Linked DNA regions of Homo sapiens: all the other regions are linked to region 2. Evidence: promoter capture Hi-C in human tissues and cell types (Jung and others, 2019). All regions are on one chromosome and are shown on one strand. Each heading gives the region's core, a stretch centred on a gene start or on the middle of the fragment in contact. The rest is flanking DNA. Distances are from core to core; before and after follow the strand shown. Region 1 holds the start of CPXM1 (carboxypeptidase X, M14 family member 1). Region 2 holds the start of EBF4 (EBF family member 4). Region 3 has its middle 25 kb from the start of CPXM1.

Evidence for each region. The method cuts DNA at HindIII sites, captures the fragments that hold promoters and counts their contacts. A contact is called where the count stands out against the background at its distance.
Region 1: a contact is called between the fragment with the promoter of CPXM1 here and the fragment with the promoter of EBF4 in region 2, in 1 of the 25 tissues and cell types used here (H1 embryonic stem cells).
Region 3: a fragment that was not itself captured here is called in contact with the fragment with the promoter of EBF4 in region 2 in 2 of the 25 tissues and cell types used here (liver and lymphoblastoid cells).

What each region holds. Positions count from the first base shown.
Region 1 is chr20:2,798,469-2,802,757 of GRCh38, forward strand. It overlaps CPXM1 (carboxypeptidase X, M14 family member 1), which reads right to left and starts at 2,159. Exons shown (of 14, transcript NM_019609.5): 1 at 1,933-2,159; 2 at 258-425; 3 at 1-69. The coding sequence starts at 2,104. RefSeq lists enhancers at 1-728, 729-1,716, 1,717-2,702. The HindIII fragment of the contact is 10,377 bases long and covers 1-4,289 here.
Region 2 is chr20:2,691,381-2,695,341 of GRCh38, forward strand. EBF4 (EBF family member 4) reads left to right here and starts at 1,400. Exons shown (of 17, transcript NM_001395167.1): 1 at 1,400-2,402. The coding sequence starts at 2,266. LOC105372507 (a long non-coding RNA gene) reads right to left here and starts at 1,240. Exons shown (of 3, transcript XR_937210.3): 1 at 686-1,240; 2 at 1-84. RefSeq lists an enhancer at 2,571-3,555. The HindIII fragment of the contact is 20,356 bases long and covers 1-3,961 here.
Region 3 is chr20:2,773,423-2,777,245 of GRCh38, forward strand. No RefSeq gene overlaps it. Among named protein-coding and RNA genes, the nearest start is that of CPXM1, 25 kb to the right of the region's middle. RefSeq lists an enhancer at 94-243. The HindIII fragment of the contact is 6,441 bases long and covers 1-3,823 here.

The DNA of each region.
Region 1 (4,289 bases), core at 909-3,408, 110 kb after region 2:
ACTGGCTGCTGGATGCCTCAAGCCGGCTATCTGAAACTCGCAGGGACTCCAGACCCAAAGGAGGACAGCCTGGGGCGGGGATAGAACAGTGAGACAGGACCAGAGGGAGGGTAGCCAGGGCAGGTGGGAAGCTGAGCCTAAGGTTGCTCCTGCGCTAGGCAAGCAAGGGGCGTGCCGGTGCCCATGAGGCCAAGAGCTGTGCTGGTAAAGTGCCCCAGGGGCTGCAAGTCTGGGCTGGGCCCCTGGAGAGGAAGTACCTGTTTCTTGTTTCTCAGCGGGGTCGAGGGTCCCTGCTGGAGTGGGGGTCACAAGGGGCCCGGCAGTCACCAGTGGGGTGGGGCGAGTTAGAGTTAGCTTCTTCCGCTTCTTCATAATGACCTTTTTCTTCTTGATGACTCGAATCCGGACATGCTGTTCTGAGGTCCCTTGGGGTCCGAGAGGCACAGCATGGGGGAAAGGAAGAATGGTGAAACCCCGGATGGAAAGGTCTGCCAGCCCAAGAAGACATGTGAGCCCACAGCAGGCCACACCACCAGGATCTAACAGCCTTCACAGGACATCAAAGGCCTGCAATCTGACCCCAACCTGCCTCTCCAGTCACTTCCTTGGCTCCTCCTTCTCCTCCCTGATGTAACTACATGCTTGGCCAGCCTCCCCTGTGAACCTCTAATCCAATGGAGAGCTGCACCCAGCCTCTAGAAACTGTTCGGTTGCTCCAAAGAGCTGAGTCTGGCACTTTACCTCCGGGCCTCTGCACTAGCTATCCCCTCCCCTGTAATGCTACCCCTCGCCTCTGATTTTTTCACCTAATTCCCATTCTTCCTTTGCATCTCAGCCCAGATGCCTTTCCAAGGAGGCTTTCTTAGCTCCAGACTCAGCATCATGCCCCAAAACCCCTGTGCCGCTTCCATTGTTGTGTCTGCTCTCTGGGCTCAGATGGCCTGTCCTGGAATCCATGTCTGCCTGGGTGTCGAGGCTTTCAGGGCTGGGCCTGCCCGCCGGCCCTTCAGCACAAGGCTCTGCCCAGGCAGGTGCTGGGGGTACCCATCGAAGCTCCACAGCTGCCTCCAGAACAGGCTGCCCATTTCCGCATCTGGTGCCCCTGTGCCTTTGCCCGCCGCTTCCTTCTTGGCAGCCCTCTCTCTCTCTCTCTCTCCAGACTCCCCTGACTCGGGGACATCACCCTTCAAGACCCTCCTCCACTTGCCTCCTCTAGAAGCCCCTGAGTGCCCTCCGCTTGCGCTCCTCCTCTCCTATTCCACATCTGGAAAGCTGGGAGGTCGGGCTGCCTTCCTCTCCCGCTCTGCCCCATCCTCCCGGCAGCCTCAGCGAGGGGCTCTCCCTTCTTTCCTTTTGTTCTTTCTCTCCAGCCCTCGCCTTCAAACTCTCTCCTACGCAGTCTTGCTCTGCACCTTGAGAGCTTCTGCCCCTCTGTCTCCCCTCCTGCCAGTTCTGGCCTGTTTTGTCTTTGGTGAAAAGGGAAGGTTTGGGGCTTGGAAGAGGCAGCATCCCACTGGCGCCTGTCCTGGGACTGCTGACTAGGTCTGGCAGGGAACTGGGGCTGCCGAGTCAGCAGCCATTGCTCCCAGCAGGGAGTTGAGGGAGTGTGAGTGTGTATATGTGTGTGTGCACTGTGAGTGTGAGTGTGCGCGCGCGTGCACTGTGTGTGCGCGCACGCGCGTGTGAGTGTGCGTGTGTGTGCATGCGTGTGAATGCGCGCGCGTGTGAGTGCAAGTGTGCGCGTGTGTGAATGTGTGTGAGTGCGCGCGCGTGTGTGCGCGTGAGTGCGAGTGTGCGTGCGGGGTGAGTGTGCATGACTGTGAGTGTGCGTGGGTGTGCGTGTGCCCGCGTGTTAGGGAGGGATCGCCCCACGGGGCAGGAGAGCCGGGCAGTCGGCTTGCGGGGGAGCGGACCGTCGGTCGGGGAACTCACCGTTAGCTGTCTCCGCCGGCGGCTGTGCCGGGCTGCTATGCAGGGCCGGGGTCGAGCCTGGGACCTTGGTGGTCCCGGGCTGCGCGAGGCCCAGCACCGAGTTCCTGGGCGCCCCCAGAGCCGGGCCGACGGCCGGCGCGAAGGCGGCCAGGGCGAGCAGGAGCCCCCACATGGCGGGGATTGAGTGCCAGGGGCGCGCGGGCTACGGCGGGTGGCGGGTCGGTCTCTTCCTGCCGAGTGCGCCGAGCCCCCCGCCCCTTCCTGCCCCCCGCCCCTCCGCAGCCTCCTGCCCGCCCACAGCCCGCTGCCCGCCTCGGACCTCGGAGAGGAGGAGAGGGCCGGGAGGAGCGAGCGGGGCTGACCTCCAAGGGGCCGCCCCAAGTCTCAGGACCGCCGACTCTGCCCTTCCTCTCCGCCGTCTGGGGCCAACCCGCCTCGTTGGCGCGCTGCGCCTTTATAGTCTGCAAAGCCACACTGAAGAGACCAGAGATCACCTGGTGGCCATCAAGTCGACCAACAGGAGGCAAAGCCCCTTATCTGAGCAATTCAGAATGACACTTCCCTATTGTCTAAAGCCACATCTGGTACCAAGCTTCCGTCCCAAGAATTTATAAGTAACTAGAATTTCTGTACGTTTCCGGAATGAGTGCACGTTAAGACCCATTGTGCAAACTTTGCTGACATCAAGGCACCAAAATATCGACAAATGTAACCATTTACCATGACCTAAGTGACTAATGTGGTCCAAATTACCCTGCAGTTCCCCGCAGGGAGCTCAGTCCTCTCTTGCTGAAGCGCCTACTGCGCTCTGCTGCCTCGTCCTTTCCGTCTAATAAAACTTTCCTTTTCAGACCTACACGGTTGTTGATAAGTTCTTTTACCACCCGGGAGCCAACCACTTCCCGGTTCCGGAGCTCTGACACCTCGCCTGGCATCTTGGTGGCCCATACGGGGACTTCACTGGGATTTCCCTCTTCCTTTTTCTCTCTGCTTCCTTCCACGGTCTGGTTCTTTACTCTTTGGGGAACTGCCGGTCCCGGTGGAGGCAGCTCTTCTGTGGGATCCTGAAGCCCTAGAGAAGGGATACCTGGCTGTCCTTGCCCTTAGGGGTGAGGGACTGGCCAGGGCTCTTTTCTGTTTTCGGACTGCCAGTGAACCAGCTTGAGTTCTCGTTGGCAACTGACAGTTTCTGGCCAAGCGCCATCCCCCGGTATTACCCCAAGGCCAAGACAAAAGAGCTATTGCCTGTCAGAGTGGCAGGGCACTTTCATTTTAACACTCCATAAGCCTTGTCCTGGAAGCGGTGGATCTCAATTCTACACAGGGATGCCTCAGGGATCTTGTAGTTCCTTGTCTAAACCCAACTTCGGTTCAATTAATTCAGTTCCATCCAACTCGCCCTTGGATTGCCTCCTTAAAAATGGTCCCATTGGTCTCATTTTGACCCACAAACTCTTAAAAATAAGCATATAAGGCTGAGCACAATGGCTTATGCCTGTAACCCCAGCACTTTGGGAGGCCAAGGCAGGCAGATCACCTGAGGTCCGGAGTTAAAGACCGGGAGTCTACTAAAAATGCAAAACTTGGCCGGGCACAGTGACTCACACCTGTAATCCTAGCACTTTGGGAGGCCGAGGCGAGTGGATCACCTGAGGTCAGGAGTTCGAGATCAGCCTGGCCAACATGGCGAAACCCTGTCTCTACTAAAAATACAAAAAAAAAAAAAAAATCAGCCAGGGGGCTAATTATATGTGGCGGGCACATATAATCCCAGCTACTAGGGAGGCTGAGGCAGGAGAATCACTTGTACCCCGGGGGCGGAGGTTGCAGTGGGCCAAGATGGCGCCACAGCACTCCAGCCTGGGCGACACAGCAAGACTCTGTCTCAAAAAATACAAATAAAAAATAAATAAGAGTTTAAAAAGCATATCCTTTTTTCTAATATTGCTTGGGTTCAATACAAGCTCCCTAATCAATCAATTTGGCCAATTAATGAAACTTGGGATTGCAATGCTACTTTACAACTTAACTGATTTTTTGCCGGAACCTTGGAAAGGATTCAGAAGTCCCATATGTTCAGGTCTTTTTTGCTTTATCCCCAAATCCAAACCCAAAATTACATACAAATTGTCATGTATGCTTCCAAGGAACGTCCTCCCTTCCCGGTTCTGATGTCTTAGATGATCCTTCCTTTTGCCTATTACATCCTCCTCAACCTGCTCACTCTTCACCTACACCCTCTCCATCTGCTCCATTCCCTAGTCAATCTCCCACCCACATACCCAAATACTTTCTCCCCTTCACATACTCTCAGGGGAGTCACATATGCTACTAGTACAGAGTCCTCAGAAAAATCC
Region 2 (3,961 bases), core at 150-2,649:
TTCAGCAGGTCCCGGCAGGGCCTAAGAGTCTGGATTCCTCACCAGCTCCCAGGTGATGTCAATGCTGCTGGTCCGGGGACCACACTGTGAGAAGCAAGATTTAGAGAGGCAGATCAGGAGATGGAGAAAGAGACTGGCTTAAGAATTGTCTTAAGGAGAAACCCATGTTTGATAATCCCACCTAGGGTAAAAGCTGAGACCTGAAGGAGTCCTGGTGGGAATGGCAGCCCCCTGTGGGTGATGGGGAGAGGCATAGAGAGAAGGGGTGGTAAAGAGACCAGGAAAGGAGGTGAGAGGGCCTCTGTGATGGCAGGAGAACCAGCAGTGCCCCCAGGACGCCTCATCTGGGCCAATGTGTGACAGAACGCTAACTCACACTTGGAGGCCCCCCAGAAGAGGATGGGAGTGAGTTGGAGCAGGAAGGTGTTATTGCAGGGGTGTCTGAGCGTGAACATGGCAGGCAGGGCAGGTGGCCCCCATGCTGTTCTGCAGGAAAGTGCTGGACTCAGTCTGGGCTTGCTCGAAGCCTGGCCAGGACAACGTGGGGAGAGGGGCAGAAATGTCTCTGCCCCACGGTCAAGGGCCAGACGACTTCTGTGCCAGGAACTAATAAAAAAAAAGGAATGGGATCTGAGACGGGACGCGGCTGGGGAGAAACAGGAGGTGAGCTGGGCTCTGAGCCTACCTGTCCAACTCGCAATCAGAAATCAGGAGGTTCCTGAAAGGCACAGATGGAAACTGAAAATGCTTTAGGCTTAGGTAACCCAGCATCAGGAATCGGGATGGTTGGATGCAGGGACCTCGCCCAGCTTGTCTGGGGCCGCAGCCTACGGCAGGGACGTTTCAGTCCTTAGCTGGGGTGAAAGTGAGGTCAGGGTCGCCGGGGAAATGCGGGAGTACAGTCACGCGGGAGAAAGACGTCAAGAGCGAAAGCTCGGAGGCGTCAAAATGAGCAGCAAGTCCAGGCACAAGGCGTCGGGCGCGGAGAGTACGGCGGGTGCCGGGGGAGGGAGATGAGGCCGCGAAGACGCCGGGGCTTCGTCCGGCGGCGACGGGGAGGCCGCGGAGGTTCCCGAGCGCAGCGGGGCGCGCACCTCCCGCTCGGGCCGGGCTCCCTCGCCGCGCGGCCCCGGATCCTCCCTGCGCGGGTTTCCGTGGCCCCCGCCGGGCTCTTCCGTTCCCTCCCGCGGCCTCGACCAGGCCGCAGCCCCCAGCCCAGGCGACCGACTCGCCAGGGTCCGCCCCGCCGCCGCGGCCCGGGCCCGGCCGCTCCTCCCCCGATGATGTCACGTCCCCGGCCGCCCCTCGGCCGGCCGCGCCGCCCCGCCCCCGCCTCCCCCGGGCCCCCGTCCCCTGGGCCCGCCCGCTCCCGACATCCCTCCTCCCGCCTGCGCTCCCTCCCTTCGGCTACCGCTCCCCCGGGAGCGGCGGCGGCGGCGGCGGCGGCGGCGGGATGGCCCGGGCCCGAGGCCAGGCCCCGGGGAGCGGCGGGCGGCGGCGGCCGCGGCGGGGCGGCGCGGGAACCGGGCCCCGGGGGGAGTCGGCCGGGCTGCTGCTGCTGCTGCTCCAGGTGCTGCCGCCCGGGGCTACGGCAGGGCCGGGACGCCGGGGCACGCGGGGCGCTGGCGCTGGCGGCGGCGGCGTCTGCTGGCCCGGCGCGGCCCCAGCCTTTCCCCGGGACGCGCGGCTGCTGCTGCTCCTGCCGCCGCTGCCGCCACTGTCGCCGCCGCCGCCGAGCTCCGCGCCCGCAGCCTCCGCCTCCCGGATGGTAATCAGCGCCCCGCGCTGGCGCCGCGGGCGGGCGGGCGGGCGGGAGGTGGGGGCGGCGAGGGGGAAAGGGCGGGCGGCCCCGCGCCCCCGCCTTGCCCGAGGCAGCTCCCGGGGCGCTCGGGCCCCCCCTCCGACGACCGCGGCCCCGGGCAGCCGCCAGAGCGCGCCTCTGGGGCGCCTCCGCGCGGACCGGGTGCGGGCTCCGCTCCCCGCCCTCCCCGCCCCGCTCGCAGTCCGCCCGCCAGCGCTCAGGCCGCGGGGGAATCCCTCCATCTCCCCGCCCAGCGCCCCAGGAGGGGAGGGGACAGCGCCGGCGCCCGCGGACCCGCTTTCTCCGAGGGAGCGCCCAAGAGGCGAGCGCGCACTGAGCCACCCGGACTCGGCGCTGCGCTGCTGGAGGCGCCTGGTGCCGTCGGGTCGGGCTGAGCTAGACGCCCGCAGCCTCAGCGGGACCGGATCCGGGGCGGCGGGGGCGCTCACTCACCGCGCGCCCTCATGTTCCCTGCGCAGGACGCTCTGCCCCGCAGCGGGCTGAACCTGAAGGAGGAGCCGCTGCTGCCCGCCGGCCTGGGCTCAGTGCGCTCCTGGATGCAGGGCGCGGGCATCCTGGACGCCAGCACCGCGGCGCAGAGGTAAGCGCTCGGACCGGACCCGGTGCGCTCGGGTTGGACGGCTGCGCGCCGCCTCAGCTCAGCTTGCTGGAGCTGCTGGAGCCAGGGGCGGAAGGAGCCCTAACTCTGGACGGTCCCGGCGAGCTCCCCGGCCCACCCCGTCCGGAGTGCCTGTGCTGCCTCCTGAGGCTGTGGGGCGGGCTGGGGCGGGGCTTCTGCCTCCACTCCGGGCTGCCCCGGTAGATTTCTGACGGCCGCTCGCGGGTGCGGCGGTGAACGCCACCCCAGCCGGGCTGTCTATGGCTCTGAGAGAAGAGGCAGAGCTCCCAGCCATGACCCACAGCCACCGGCCGTCTAGGAACGTCCAGCCCCTCCTTCCTGGGCAGTCCCAGTGACTCTCCTTGTCCAATTCCGCAGCTCTCTGTCAGGAAAGGCACGAAACCCAGCCCCCTTTTTCCTTTCCCACGCCCCTCAGAGTTGGCGGATGGGGGTGTGCAGAGCCAGAGAAGCGGCTGGGGGCTGGACGGTGGCGAAGAGATGAGGTGGGCAGTCGGCCTGGCTGGACTGATTGGCCTGGGAACTGGGCAGGGCCCCTGCCTTTCCCTCGGGTGTTTTTCTGGTAGGTCCTTTGGAAGGCAGAGAGTCCCTGGGAACCCAGCACCCGCGCCGGTCTCCTCTGACTCCTTTGCAGGGGTCTGGGAGTCTCAGTAGGGGGTTGACTCCAGGATTTGAAAGCGAACTTTAAAAGTTTATTGACCTGCCCCCAAAGCCCCTGCACCCCCTGGCTTTTTGCACCTTCAGCTGTGACCATGGAGGGAGGCATTTAGGTATCCTATGGGGAGTCACAGTGGTTAGGATTAGGGAGGTGCCAGCTCTGCTGACAGCTGGGACAGGGTGGGCACTTGGCTTCCCAGAAGTCTGAGCTGTTGCAGCAGCCCGAAGGGATTCTGAATGGGGGGCTTAATGCAGACCGGGCCTGACACAGGAGCCCACATTCACACTCCGCAGGACGCCTCAACCTCACCGTGTAACAGACACACACCGCGCTTCATGTGCAAACTGAAGCCGTTTCTGCACGCCGGTCCTTTCCTGGCTGTCGGGAGGGAACGCTGGGGGGCTCTGGAGCTGATCTCTTACGGAAGAGAAAGGGTCTTGTGGATGAATTAATTTCCAAAACTTTTACAAGGGATATAGCTATATTCTAGAAAAATTGGAAAATAAAAAATTTAGTCCCTCCTCTGTAATACAACTACTGTCAACATTTTAGTGTATTTCCTTCCTATTTTTCTTCCCATTAACTTGTGTTTTCCTGTGCTATGCTTACAATTCCACCTCCTGCCTATTCTTCTGTTGGTTCTGGCTTTTTTTTTTTTCAACTTGAGAAGGTTAGTTTCTTAACATGGCCCCCTCTTTGGCCCCACCACCTGCTGTGTGGCGAGAGCTCTTTGTAAGAGTGGGTGAGGAGTGCTGATGGGGGCCTCTGGGAGTTAAGGTTCCATTTCTCTGCAACCTTTCCCTCTGTGCCTACCCAGAGGCAGGTCTGATGAAGGGGAAGCAGACGTGAAGGAGGCAGTGCCCTT
Region 3 (3,823 bases), core at 576-3,075, 82 kb after region 2:
TGCAGTGAGCTGAGATTGCACTGTTGTACTCCAGCCTGGGCAATAGAATGAGACCCTATCTCAAAAAAAGGAAAAGAAAAAGAAAGAAAAGAAGAAAAATACTGGAAGAAATAGTGGCTGAAAATTTGCCACTTATCACTCATGTCATAAGGGCCTTCAGCCACTGAAACACTGTTTTCATTTTTTTTGGGGGGGGGTTTGTTCTGTTTTGTTTTTTTGTTTTTGTTTTGAGACAGAGTCTCGCTCTATCACCAGGCTGGAGTGCAGTGGTGCGATCTCAGCTCACCACAACCTCTGCCTCCCAGGTTCAAGCAATTCTCCTGCTCAGCCTCCCGAGTAGCTGGGACTATAGGCACGTGCCACCACGCCCAGCTAATTTTTGTATTTTTAGTAGAGACGGGGTTTCACCGTGTTGGCCAGGATGGTCTCGAGCTTTGACCTCATGATCTGCTCACCTCGGCCTCCCAAAGTGCTGGGATTACAGGCCTGAGCCACCCTGCCTGGCCTCTGTTTTTTTTTTTTTTTTTTTAAGACACATTCTCACTCTGTCTCCCAGGCCGGAGTGTAGTGGCACGACAATAACTTACTATAACCTTGAACCCTTGGGCTCAAACAACCCTCCTGCTCAGCCTCCTGAGTAGCTGGGACCACAGGCACGTGCCATCACGCCCAGCTAATTTTTTAATTTTTTGTAGAGATGCAGTCTCGCTATGCTGCCCAAGCTGATCTTGAATTCCTGGCCTCAAGCAATCCTCCTTCCTTGACCTCCCAAAGTTTGGGATTACAGACATGAGCCACTGCGCCCAGCCCTGAAACACTTTTTGAAGCTCGTATTAGTAACCTAATAAGTAACCTAAGCCATCAGAGGTATCTATATTTCATATAGCTGTGTTTCTAATAAAGCTGTAATTAAAAGAACATTTGTAACTTAAAGTTCTAAGTTGTCTCAGGGGTTGGGTCACTATATTGAGTGTACTCCCCCAATTCTTCTCCTCACATGCAGATTTTAGTAAGTGATAGTTTTAAATTAAATTTTGAACCTGTGCTTTGCTTTGTTTTGTTTTGTTTTGTTTTTTTCTGATACAGGGTCTCACTCTGTCTTCCAAGCTGGAGTGCAGTGGCGCGATCTCGGCTCACTGCAACCTCTGCCTCCCAGGTTCAAGCGATTATAGACATGTGCCACCATGCCCGACTAATTTTTGTATTTTTAGTAGAGACGGGGTTTTACTATCTTGGCCAGGCTGGTTTCAAACTCCTAACCTCAGGTGATCCACCCACCTTGGCCTCCCAAAGTGCTGAGAGTAGAGGCGTGAGCCACTGCATCCTGCCAAGCCTGTGCTCTTTGTTGCCTCCATACTGCTTCACAAACATGGGGGCATTGAGCTTGGAACTTTCTCGCAGAGGCTGAAACCACCTTTGTCTTCCTCTCCATGGAAATTAAATAGGTTTCATGTCAAGCATAGTACATATGATGTCTGTACAAATTAGAAAAAGGTGTCTCTTCCTCAAGCCCCCCCCCCAAAAAAAGTGTTATGTTAATATTTATTCCTTAACGACAATAATTAAGATAAACATACAGGAGCACTTGCCCCTCCCCCAAAGCCGACAGCCTTCGTGTCACCTGATGTATTAGCTGAAGCAGTATTCCTGGGTGAGAAATGTGTTGTTTCCAGAATCCAGAGGCCACCAAGTGCTGTGCTTCCTTCTTTGTGGCAGGGGATACAAAATACAGCAATTAGTCTCTAACTTTGGAGGAGCTATCCTGGCATGCCCTTGGCCAACAGACCCCGTAAAACTTGACCAAAATGGCAGGTCCCTGAACCCTCCCAGAGTTTATCTCCTACCATCTGGATTGCATGTGTCTCACCAAGGCCTCCAGTGTGCTAGCCATGTTGTGCTCATCCTGCCCGCCTGCATGACGTCAGTAACATAAAGGATCACTGCAGTGTCTGCATGACATATGGATAGTACAGAGACCTTCAAACTATATTATGATACAGACCAGGAAAATTAACATAGCCCTAGGGCAAAACACTGAGTAAATATTTATGTGAATGAGGACTGTTTCTGATCTTCTTTTCTAATTGGGATGGAACTCTAATATAAAATCCACCACCGTAACAAACTGAAAGAGAGAAAATATACGGTCACCTCAAAAGATGCAGAAAAAGCATTTGACAAACCTAACATCTGCTATAAAAATTCTCAGCCAGCTAGGATGAGAAGAAAACCTCTACAACATGATAAAGGGTATCTATGAAAACCTAACAGCTAACCCTAAACTGAATGTTTTTGCCCTAAAATCAGGAAGTAGGCAAGGATGCCCAGTCTTACCACTTTTGTTTGTGCTTCTTTGATCTGAAAATATATGGCTTTCACAAAATTTGAGCAGTTTTCAGCCATTGTTTCTTAACTTTCATTTAATATAGTACTAGAAGCCCTAGCAAGTGTGATAAGGCAAGAAAAATAAACAAAAGTCTTAATATTGAAAGGAAAAAATAAAATTATTCCCACTCACAAATGATATAATCATCTGTGCATAAAATCCTAAGGAATATATATATGTATATATTTGGAAAAAAACAGCTCCACGGCCAAGCATGGTGCCTCACACGTGTAATCCCAGCACTTTGGGAGGCCAAGACAGGAGAACTGCCTGAGGCCAGAAGTTCGAGACCAGCCTGAGCAACACAGGGAGACTCCATCTCTACAAAAAATGTTTAAAATGGCCAGACATAGTGGTGTGTGCCTGTGGTCCCAGCTACTTGGGAAGCTGAGGCAGGAGGATCACTTGAGCCCAGGAGTCTGAAGCTGCAGTAAGCTGGATCGCACCACTGCAGCACACAGCCTGGGCAATAGAGTGAGACAGCTGTCAAAAAAAAAAAAAATAAAGCTTCTAACTAATATTCAAGTTTATCAAGATCACAAGATTTGAGATCAATATACAAAAATCAACTACATTTCAATATATTAGCAAGGAACAATTAAAAATCAAATTTAAAAAATAACACCTGCATTTGTTTGCTAGGACTGACATTAAAAAGTACCACAGACCAAGTGGCTAAAACGACAGAGATTTATTTTCTCACAGTTCTAGAGGGTGGAAGTCAAAGATCGAAGTATCAGCTGATTTGGTTTCTCTTAAAGCCTCTCTCCTGGCCCTACAGGTGCCTACCTTCTCCCTATGTCTTCACATGGTGGACAGAGAAAACTCTTGTGTCTCTCTCCTCTCTTTTTTTTTTTTTTTTTTTGAGACAGTCTCACTCAGTTGCCCAGGCTGGAATGCAGTGGTGCAATCTCGGCTCACTGAAACCTCCACCTCCCTCGTTCAAGCGATTCGCCTGCCTCAGCCTCCTGAGTAGCTGGAATTACAGACTCGTGCCACCACCCCTGGCTAATTTTTGTATTTTTAGTAAAGATGGGGTTTCGCCATGTTAGCCAGGCTGGTCTCAAACTCCTGACCTCAACAGCTCCGCCCACCTTGGCCTCCCAAAGTGCTGGGATTACAGGTGTAAGCCACCACGCCAGCCTCTCTCTCTTCTTAAAGGGACACTAGTCATACTGGATTAGGGCCCACCCATGTGAACTTAATTACTTCTTTAAGGTTCTGTCTCCAAATACAGTCACAATCTGAAGTCTTGGGGGTTAGGACTTCAGTATATGAATTGGGGTGAAATAATTCAGCCCATAAAAATACCATTGATAAGAGCTCGAAAAATGAAATACTTCAATATAAATCTAACATAAGATGTGCAGGATCTGTATGCTGGAAACTACAAAACGCCAATGAAAGAGCTAGAAGAAGACCTAATAAGCGAATAAA